3 separate regions of the Homo sapiens genome follow, and all the other regions are linked to region 1. Evidence: promoter capture Hi-C in 16 types of primary human blood cells and fetal thymus (Javierre and others, 2016). All regions are on one chromosome and are shown on one strand. Each heading gives the region's core, a stretch centred on a gene start or on the middle of the fragment in contact. The rest is flanking DNA. Distances are from core to core; before and after follow the strand shown.

The links. The method cuts DNA at HindIII sites, captures the fragments that hold promoters and counts their contacts. A CHiCAGO score of 5 or more calls a contact.
Region 2: a contact is called between a fragment that was not itself captured here and the fragment with the promoter of UBQLN2 in region 1, in 1 of 17 cell types (non-activated CD4 T cells). The highest score is 7.0, in non-activated CD4 T cells.
Region 3: a contact is called between the fragment with the promoter of MAGEH1 here and the fragment with the promoter of UBQLN2 in region 1, in 1 of 17 cell types (fetal thymus). The highest score is 11.3, in fetal thymus.

What each region holds. Positions count from the first base shown.
Region 1 is chrX:56,561,583-56,564,876 of GRCh38, forward strand. It overlaps UBQLN2 (ubiquilin 2), which reads left to right and starts at 2,045. Exons shown (of 1, transcript NM_013444.4): 1 at 2,045-3,294. The coding sequence starts at 2,292. RefSeq lists enhancers at 1,748-2,375, 2,772-2,971, 2,982-3,041. The HindIII fragment of the contact is 11,191 bases long and covers 1-3,294 here.
Region 2 is chrX:57,598,000-57,601,752 of GRCh38, forward strand. No RefSeq gene overlaps it. Among named protein-coding and RNA genes, the nearest start is that of ZXDB, 7.9 kb to the left of the region's middle. The HindIII fragment of the contact is 2,118 bases long and covers 518-2,635 here.
Region 3 is chrX:55,450,151-55,453,795 of GRCh38, forward strand. MAGEH1 (MAGE family member H1) reads left to right here and starts at 1,977. Exons shown (of 1, transcript NM_014061.5): 1 at 1,977-3,416. The coding sequence starts at 2,225. The coding sequence ends at 2,884. MIR4536-2 (microRNA 4536-2) reads left to right here and starts at 1,345; the gene lies at 1,345-1,432. It overlaps MIR4536-1 (microRNA 4536-1), which reads right to left and starts at 1,432; the gene lies at 1,345-1,432. RefSeq lists enhancers at 2,190-2,239, 2,390-2,439. The HindIII fragment of the contact is 1,343 bases long and covers 858-2,200 here.

The DNA of each region.
Region 1 (3,294 bases), core at 795-3,294:
TTAACTATTGCTGATATTTTATCATATTTGCTTTCATTTTAAAGATAAAAAGCATTTTTACATATTTAAGTTCCCTTTACTCACTATCCTGTATCCTATTCCATTTCCTCTTCCTCATGGGTGCAAGTTTGGTATATTTCTAAAAGAATATTTCAAATATACATAAGAATGTATTAGAGTGCTGTTTGGCATGTATTAGGTTGGTGCAAAAGTAATTGCGGTTTTTGCTATTACTTTCAATGGCAAAAACCATTGTATAATAGTAACAATTCGTTACTTTCAATGGCAAAAACCGCAATTACTTTTGCATCAACCTAATACTAATTAATTTGGCTTTTTAGATCTATACATATTAACATATTTAAAGCTAGTCATCTTTTTACCTCTGTATTTTATTAATTATATTAATAAAATAGAGAGGTAAAATAATATTAATTCTTCCATTTCTCCATCGATGGATATAACATACCTGTATATATATATTTTTCTTATCTTCAGATTTATTAAAGTATTTGTGACCTAATGACTTTGAAATGCTGTTAAATGTTGAAAGCAGTGGTGCTTTGGTGGATGCTTGGTAGAGGGTGGGGGTTGGGGAAGAATTTTCTGTGTGGTTTAACCTAGAGTTAGAAATATATAGATAAATTTGAAATTATTTCTTCTATTTTTCAAGTTCTCTTTCTCAGCATTGCTACATCTTTATTGCTCTTACTTAATCTGTAATTAAATTAGGTAAATATGTCAATGTTTGCCACTACTATTATGTGCCTGTCAATTTCTACCCATACTCTTCCCCAAAATACCTTTCTGTAGTGCATACTTACAAAAATCATCAGAAAATTCAAAATCTTATGAAAATAGAAAATAAGAATTATTCATAATTTCAGCAAACAGTACTAACAGCCATTAACTTATTTGTGCATAGCCTTCCAGATTTTTTTACACATACGGTTTACATATACAACAAACTGTTCAAAAATTGCTTTTAAAATAAAAATATATTTATTGTATTTTTGATATTGGAACATATATTCTTATATAGTTTGTAACTGTACAGAAATATACAAAGGCATAATTGAAAATACTCTGTGATTTCCCTATAACTACAGTTTATTTCATGTATACCTTTAAAGACACTCTATATTTTCTTGTATGGTAATATGATAATGTGCTCAACTAATCTCATGTAAACAGATAGTTAATATATTTAAATAACATTTTAAAATGCTACAATGTATATACATTTTATACATAAATATTTTTGCATCCTCATCCGATTATTAGGCGAAGTGTCTAGGTTAGGCATTTCTAAATAAAGGTGGAAACATTCAAAATGCTGATATATATTTTCAAATTGCCCTATGGTTGTAACAATTCACACTTCAGCTAGCCTGAGAGGGCATTTTTTAGGGTCCCTGTCAACAAGAAGGTTTACCATTATTTTTTTCCCTGCCAATATGATAAGCCAAAAGTAGAATTTTATTGTTTTAACTTGATTTCTTTTTATTAGTAGTGAAATTAATCATCCTTTTTTAATGTCTATTGGCCATTTGCACTCCTTTTGTAAAATGCACGCTCCTGCTCTGTCTTCTTCCCTTCCCCTACTGGAGGTGTTCCTCTTTTCTTTTTGCTTTGTCAGAGTTCTTTATTATTCATTTTTCGTCTTATACGTGGGATCTGTTCGATTCAGGCTTTCACCCTTTTACTGCCTTACAGATTGCTAATATACATTCTCCATTGGTCTTTTAATGTCGTTTACAGAAGCTGACTCTCTACCGCCTCCTTCTCTCCGTCTCACCCTCTCTGCCTCGCCTGCTCTGTACTGTTCTGTTCTCTTCTCTCTCTCCCTTTGTTTCTCTCTCTCCCTTTTTTCTTTTCAGTGCAGAAGTTTTTAATTTTGACCGAGCCAAATCTATCAATCTAGGCCTGGCGCCGCGTCAGCAGAGGGGGCGGGGAGGCGAGCGCGGAACTGGGGGAGGGGAAGGGGCGGGGATCAGCAGGCGGAGCGGCTGCCAGAGTTGCTGGGAGTGCGCGCGGTCGGATCACAAGGCGGCGGCGGAGGAGGCCCAGAGACCGGAGCGCGGAGACCTCAGCCAGCGGCCTACGCCCAGGCCTTTCTCCACCGGAGGACCAGGGAACCGCAGTCTTCATCACAGAGGTACCGTGCTCCGCGCTCCCCGCCTGACCCGGCCCAGCCCGCTGCGGCGGTGCCTCCTTCCTTCCTCCTTCCCTCGCGCTCTCTCTTTCGCCCGCCCGCGCCTTCCCTGCCCGCCTGCGTCACCGCGGCCGCCATGGCTGAGAATGGCGAGAGCAGCGGCCCCCCGCGCCCCTCCCGCGGCCCTGCTGCGGCCCAAGGCTCGGCTGCTGCCCCGGCTGAGCCTAAAATCATCAAAGTCACGGTGAAGACTCCCAAAGAGAAAGAGGAGTTCGCGGTGCCCGAGAACAGCTCGGTTCAGCAGTTTAAGGAAGCGATTTCGAAACGCTTCAAATCCCAAACCGATCAGCTAGTGCTGATTTTTGCCGGAAAAATCTTAAAAGATCAAGATACCTTGATCCAGCATGGCATCCATGATGGGCTGACTGTTCACCTTGTCATCAAAAGCCAGAACCGACCTCAGGGCCAGTCCACGCAGCCTAGCAATGCCGCGGGAACTAACACTACCTCGGCGTCGACTCCCAGGAGTAACTCCACACCTATTTCCACAAATAGCAACCCGTTTGGGTTGGGGAGCCTGGGAGGACTTGCAGGCCTTAGCAGCCTGGGCTTGAGCTCGACCAACTTCTCTGAGCTCCAGAGCCAGATGCAGCAGCAGCTTATGGCCAGCCCTGAGATGATGATCCAAATAATGGAAAATCCCTTTGTTCAGAGCATGCTTTCGAATCCCGATCTGATGAGGCAGCTCATTATGGCTAATCCACAGATGCAGCAATTGATTCAGAGAAACCCAGAAATCAGTCACCTGCTCAACAACCCAGACATAATGAGGCAGACACTCGAAATTGCCAGGAATCCAGCCATGATGCAAGAGATGATGAGAAATCAAGACCTGGCTCTTAGCAATCTAGAAAGCATCCCAGGTGGCTATAATGCTTTACGGCGCATGTACACTGACATTCAAGAGCCGATGCTGAATGCCGCACAAGAGCAGTTTGGGGGTAATCCATTTGCCTCCGTGGGGAGTAGTTCCTCCTCTGGGGAAGGTACGCAGCCTTCCCGCACAGAAAATCGCGATCCACTACCCAATCCATGGGCACCACCGCCAGCTACCCAGAGTTCTGCAACTACCAGCACGA
Region 2 (3,753 bases), core at 327-2,826, 1.0 Mb after region 1:
ACAAAATGCTTGAGTAGTAGTCGAGAAACATGGATAGACTATGAAGTTTGTCTCTGTGACCTACATTGTTCATGTTCATGTCCAGGAAACATATAAGAAAGCAATTTGTAAGCTGGAGATTATACTGTATATATTCCAAATTAACAAATATTTACTGAGCGTCATTGTGAAGATTACACCATAACATATTGAAGGGTCTGTGAGAGGAGTACTATATAACCCTGACCTTTAAAGAGATCGCCATTGATGGGAGGAGATAGAAAAATAATATATTAAACTATTGAAGAACAAAAACGGAAAAATGTTTACTTTGGCACCAAATGAAAATGATTAAGAGGTTAACAAAAAAAAAGCAGTAAGAATAATGAGACATTTATTCTGGGCACAGAGAAGAGCCACCAAATATGTTTTAATAGAGGAGTCAGACAATGAAAATTATGTTTTAGAAAAGTTAATGTCATGCAAGTGTACAATGTGGATTAGATGGGAAAGACCGGAATAGGAAAATCAGTGAGAAAGCTTTTGCAGCAATCAAGGTGTGATATGAAGGATGAAGCCAGGACTAGGATGGTGTCAGTGGAGAGGTATTGGAAATATTTTCAAATATTTCCAGTATTTGAAGACAGATTTCAAATATCAGATAATTTCAAATATCTCTTCAAATACTGAAGAGAAGAAGGAATATTACTTAGTACCTCATTGCGGTGGAGTGGGGGGGAAGAAAAGAGGGAGGGAGGGAGAGAGAGATCATCATGGAAACCAAGAATGGTAACTCAGGTTTCCTTGGGGACTATAATAATCATATTTTTACTAACAGAATGAGGGAAGTAAGAGTTCTTTCTGAGAATCAGTGTATAAAGATGGTGTATTTAGTTAAACAATAATTGTTAAAGCATTGTTATCCTGCATGAGGATACATTATAACGTGGATACATTGTGGTTTATCCACTTTCTAGAAGACAGCAAAAGGCTACTTTTTTTTTTTATTTTTTTTTTGGCAGGGGGTTCCTTTAGGCATTCTCAGAACTACCTACACAGTTATGATCCTCTTACCTCCTTTTGAATTACGAGAGACCTCCCCAGCTTGTCTTGAATGATCCAGATCTGCATTGGCCAATATGGTAGCTACTAGTCATATGTGCCTATTCAGCACTTGAAATGTGTCTAGTGCAACCGAGGAACTGAATTCTTAATTAAATTTAAGTTTTAAAACTGAAGCAGTATAAACATTTTTCTGTTAGACACAACTCTATTGTTTCAGCAGGACTAAATTTCACTTTAGCCATTGAAAATTTAGTATCTAAATTGAGATGTGCTATGAAAGTAAAATATAAACCTTAATACAAAAAGTTTTCAGAGGCTTAATACAAAAAAATTAAATATCTGATTAGTATTTTAATATTGATTACATGTTGAATAATGTTTTCAATAGATTCGGTCAAAGAAAATATTCAAATTAATTTTATCAGTTTCTTCTTACTTTTTTAATGTGGCTACTAAAAAAATCTGAAATAAAGGCAGGACACAGTGGTTCATGCCTGTAATCCCAACACATTAGGAGGCCAAGGCGGAAGGATCACTGTGACCAGGAATTTGAGGCTTCAGTGAGCTATGATCCCACCGCTGCACTCCAGCCTGGGTGACAGAGTGAGACCCTATCTCTTTAAAAAAGAAGAAAAGTAAAGAAAATTTAAAATTAAACATATGGCTCTTTTAAAAAATAAAATTACATATAAACTCTCATTATATTTCTATTGGACAATGCCAATCTGGACATTACATCACTTCCTGAGACTACTCTGTATGAAAATGAGCTATGCCTTCTGTGCTGTATACTAACTGATTATGTTTAGGGTATAATAGTCTGTGTATTATAAAGGACTGCATCATAATTTCAGGAATTCAGTATTTTGTCATGAATTTCAGCAGTTCACTATGAAAGTAGAAGTGAATTTTACCTGCATCTGTCTCAGTTGGAGCTGGGAAGAGTAAGGTGGTGAAAAGTCCAGTATTCCTGGATCTGTGTGAGATTGCCTCATTGAGGCATCTTACTCATAATCTCTTCTGTCACTAAAGAGAATCATGAGCCAAGTGATAGCGTGAGAACCCCTACAACAGTCTTTCCATTTTGTAGTTTCCCTGTCCACTAAAAGAGAGAACTCTAGAAGGAATGGAACAAAAATAAAGGGTAAAACATTAAAGGAGTGTAAATAACTCTCCAGGAATTACACTGTATTTGATGGTGAATTTGATAGGAGTCCCACATTGTCACCTAGGATAATTTCTCCCTCTTGTTAATTGCTGACATTTAAAGACATACAGAACTCTTTTAACTTTTTATTTTTCTAAAGACAATATCCTAATTCGGTATTTTAAAACAAAGCACACAGAGATACCTAACAGCACCAACAATTTCTGAATCCCTTAAGACCATCCATTCTATTTGTTTACTAAGCTATCAATCAGCACTTATGTATTGAATACCTAATATATGAGGTATTGTGAATTATTACACCTAAAGTATAACTCATTAATCCATACCAAATTTTTTTGAGTATCAATTATGTAACAGGTATTGTCTTTATGTTTAAAGATATGATCTATATGGGAAACTATTAAAACCAGTATATAACAAAGCTTTAAGAGGTACATTATAGGTTTATCAGAATAAGAAGTACCATTTTCTGTAAGTGAGCATAAATTTTGATGATGGGAAACCAATATGCACAATATCATGAAATATTGTATTTCATCAGAAACTAAAATTTTGTTTAAAGTATAAGTATTGCAACAAAAGTATTCTAAGCTAAAACTTTGACAGGTTTCTGAGAAGTAGATTTGATAAACTATAGCAAAATATGAAAATCAATTATGAAACAGACTTTGTTTTTTATTTATTTTTAGATTACAACTTTTGGCTTGATGAATCTTATACCTATAAGTGATCCTGGGGATTGTGTACTTATCTCCCTCATTTTATGAATGAGGAAAGGTATTAAGCCTACACTTTGTGTGTAAATTTCTTTTCTTCTTATTATAAGACATTATTGCAAAATTTAATTCTGTGGAAAAATAATGACATTATTTCAAAGATAAATGTATTATATTGACACACTAGGTGGAAGGAATGAACTAGTAATTAATTTCATGTAACATTTGGGACTGAAAGTTAGAGTTAAATATGGAGGAACCTAAAAGTTCACCAGTGCTCAGGGGTGGAGGTTCTGGTAAACAAGTAAGTGTTTTGATTTCTGGTAAAAAATAGTAGCTTAACATTTTTGACAATTAGGGAAAATTCTGTTTCAAAATAGCAAAATAAAGCTTTCTTTAATGCTAAGAATTTTTTAACCTTCAAGATGTAAAACACTCACAAAGGGTAAAAAACAAACATTTTCCTTATAGCATAATAGCAAAAGAAAGTGATTTATTTTAAACAAGACTAACCTCTCTCTTCTGTTTACAGTACAGCATAGAAGCTAACTTCAGAATTTTCTCCCTTCAAATGACAGAAGGAAACTGTCCACTTGTCTGCTTAGAAATTTTCCAGAACAGAGAACCCTAGTGAAGGAGCAGCAGCAGTTCATCCCTAGCTAGTTTCAACTTTAGTGCTGCCTTAGTGAGTCCTTTCCTGTCCAAAGTGCCAACATTAGCTAGTTAACACCAACTACGGTCAACTTTTAGTACTTGCTATGTGTAAGAAAATTGAGCATTTTCTCCTTCAATTCACATATGATTGTGGGCTTCCTGGTGCTA
Region 3 (3,645 bases), core at 727-3,226, 1.1 Mb before region 1:
TTAAATTTTATACAGCTAGCTATTGGTGTTTATAATATTAATCTCTCTTCTTTGCCCTACGTTTGAGATTAAGTCGCAGTAAAAAAAAATTCATGCTAAAAACAAGCAAATAAACTGCAAAAGTAATCCTCCCATTTTTGTTTCATGAGGGTAGGATTGTACATGCTATAGACTTCCATGCAAGACCCAAATTCCTGGAAACAGTAAAATAAGTTCATACCTGTACTGAAAAACAATTCAGAGCAATTATCAATGGACCAGAAACTGCGAGAATTCTCAGAATGTGGGACAGCAGATGGAGCCAGACTACTGTTTTGAGTAGGTCATGTCCCAGAACGCGTGCAAAGGTTATCCCAAACGGAGGGCTGGCTCAAGAGTGCTCTGTGTCCTGGAGAGGTGCTTTCTTTGCTTGACCAAATTGATTTATTGCTAACTTACCCAACAGGAGGTCTCGGTGGGCTCTAATTATAAAGAAAATTTCAGCAAGACAGGCATAAAGTATTCATTTGTTTCTTAAGAGTTCAGTTAAGAACACCTATAAAATCTTTTCCATCATGAATTCCTTCAGCACGCATTTATTAAATGCCACACTCACACACCGCTTGGAAAACCTTGAGAGGCAAAATCTGTGCTTACCATGTAATAAATGCTTTTCATTTTTTATCTCATTTAATTCTCACAACCCTATGAGGGCTGTACTTTAGCCCCACTTTATAGATGGGAAAACAGGCTTAGAGAGAAGTGACTTGCTTAAACTAATACCTTGAATGACATAAGAAAGATATAGAGTGCTAGTTATAGGGCTTTCCTCAATGGAGTAAAAATGGACTCATTACCCTTTTGGGCAGATCAAGACAAGCTTCAGGGAGAAACAGGTCTGTGAGCAGTCAAATGGAATTTAGATAGTTGGAGAAGGCTGAGAAGACAGGTCAGGCAGAGCAAACAGTGAGCAAAAGCAAGCAGTGGATAAAGTTCAGAGTATGCTCTGAAAGAAGCAAAATAAATCAGGAGTCCAGGAAGACTGGAGCCTAGAAACCTTGGAGCCAATCTGAACTCCATCATCCCCTCCACATTCCCCACTTCATCCATTCTGTCTGCAAAGCCCTTCAACGGTCACCTTTAAAATGTCTTTCTGCCTCTCCATCCCCATGGCAACAGCCTTAAGGCATACTTTAGTTCCCAGTGCTTCTTATTCCAATTGCTTCCTATGTGGTCTGCCAGGAAACAGTTTGCTTTTCTGAGAGGCTGCACAAATGCAATTCCTCTGATCCTGTCACTGCCCTGCTTTCATACATACATACATACATATATGTGTGGTAGATATATGCACTGTATATAAACATAATGTGGTAGATATATGCACGATATAGGTATGTATGTATGTATGTATAAAAGCAGGGCAGTATATATATCGTGCATATATCTACCACATTTTAAAGGCTCTGCACCTCTTTCACCCTGCTTGTTTCTGCAGTCCCATCTCCTCACATCATCCAGCACATCTGCCATAACAATATTATCCGGGTCCTACATGGGACCACAAATTGATTAGTATACACACAAATGCCTTCTGAAAACAGGGCGAGTGAATGAACGCGCTGTGTAAGCCAAGACAGGAAAGGAAGGCTGGAGACAGCTGACTCCTTCCAAGAATACACCCTCCCGCCACCCCTGGCCTCCCAACCCCCAACACACACACAGCCCGTCGTCAGTGGGAATGGAGCCGACGCACTCCTTCCCTAGACCGTCGAGCCAATCTTGGAATGTTTGTAGTAGGCTGAAAATACAGAAACTTTAAGCTATTTTTTTCTCTTCTGCAAACTCCAGGCCCCTCCAATCTCTAGCTGTCATTTCTGCCCTTGTCCCACCCCTGTCGCTGCCTGCCCCTTTTCCTATCTGCTAGCGGAAGTCCCTGTGGAGGACCAGCCTACTTCCTCTTTGGTGCTAGGAGTGTGCGTGGCAGGAGAGGCGGGGCCAATTTTGCTGAGCTTTCTCGCGGGCTTGCAGCTGCGGCAAGTGCTGGCGGCGGCTGCTCGCGCAAGTCAGCTGGCGTGGGAACTACCCTTTGTAGCTGAGAACGGCTTGTTTATTGCTACAAAGACTCTATTGACATTGGTAGCTTCAGCGGCAGCAGCTTCTTACGGTATAAAGCTGTTGCTTCCTGAAGAGGCTACAAGCATCCTTCCCTAGGACTGCTGTAAGCTTTGAGCCTCTAGCAGGAGACATGCCTCGGGGACGAAAGAGTCGGCGCCGCCGTAATGCGAGAGCCGCAGAAGAGAACCGCAACAATCGCAAAATCCAGGCCTCAGAGGCCTCCGAGACCCCTATGGCCGCCTCTGTGGTAGCGAGCACCCCCGAAGACGACCTGAGCGGCCCCGAGGAAGACCCGAGCACTCCAGAGGAGGCCTCTACCACCCCTGAAGAAGCCTCGAGCACTGCCCAAGCACAAAAGCCTTCAGTGCCCCGGAGCAATTTTCAGGGCACCAAGAAAAGTCTCCTGATGTCTATATTAGCGCTCATCTTCATCATGGGCAACAGCGCCAAGGAAGCTCTGGTCTGGAAAGTGCTGGGGAAGTTAGGAATGCAGCCTGGACGTCAGCACAGCATCTTTGGAGATCCGAAGAAGATCGTCACAGAAGAGTTTGTGCGCAGAGGGTACCTGATTTATAAACCGGTGCCCCGTAGCAGTCCGGTGGAGTATGAGTTCTTCTGGGGGCCCCGAGCACACGTGGAATCGAGCAAACTGAAAGTCATGCATTTTGTGGCAAGGGTTCGTAACCGATGCTCTAAAGACTGGCCTTGTAATTATGACTGGGATTCGGACGATGATGCAGAGGTTGAGGCTATCCTCAATTCAGGTGCTAGGGGTTATTCCGCCCCTTAAGTAGATCTGAGGCAGACCCTTGGGGGTGTAAAAGAGAGTCACAGGTACCCCAAGGAGTAGATGCCAGGGTCCTAAGTTGAAAATGATGTCGATTGGGGGCGGGGGACACTGTATTTGATATTTGTGATCAGTGATCATTGTTCAACTGCGAAATAGAGTGTTTGCTTTTGATAATGGAAAATTGTATTCGTTTTAAAATTCCGTTTGTTGAGAATAACAATATGTTTAAAAATATAATTGAACAAATTTTTTTCTTTGTTTCCTGTCATTGACATTTAGTATAACAGTTTTGCTAACGTTCTAAAATGAAGTCGTTCCATCATAATCTATGATCTTGTACAGCACTTATAGAAATAAGCTGTTCTTTTGAAGTTGAAATACCCAGTAAAATGTTGAAGAAGGATGGAGGATTTCTTCATATCTGACGTTTCTGAAACCCTTTGTGTCTGCTGTTGTGTGAAGATTGACATTTACCATGATTTTCCTTAGTTACTGCAGAACATAGAGAAAAATAAAAGCCTAACGAATAGTACATCTTGCGCATTTTCTGACCACCTGTTATGTGAGGCACCAGTCTAGATTCTAGGGATACTCCCTAGTACACATCCTCCAGGTCCAAAGAATGTTCTAGATTATGTGGGAAAGAAAAATAGGTAAACTGGCAGTGCAGTAAATGCTGGGATAGAGAACGAGCCTGAAGTGCCATGAAAATGTAAAAAACCTTATGTGACCTGTCTTGGGGAGTGGGCCGGGGAAGGGAG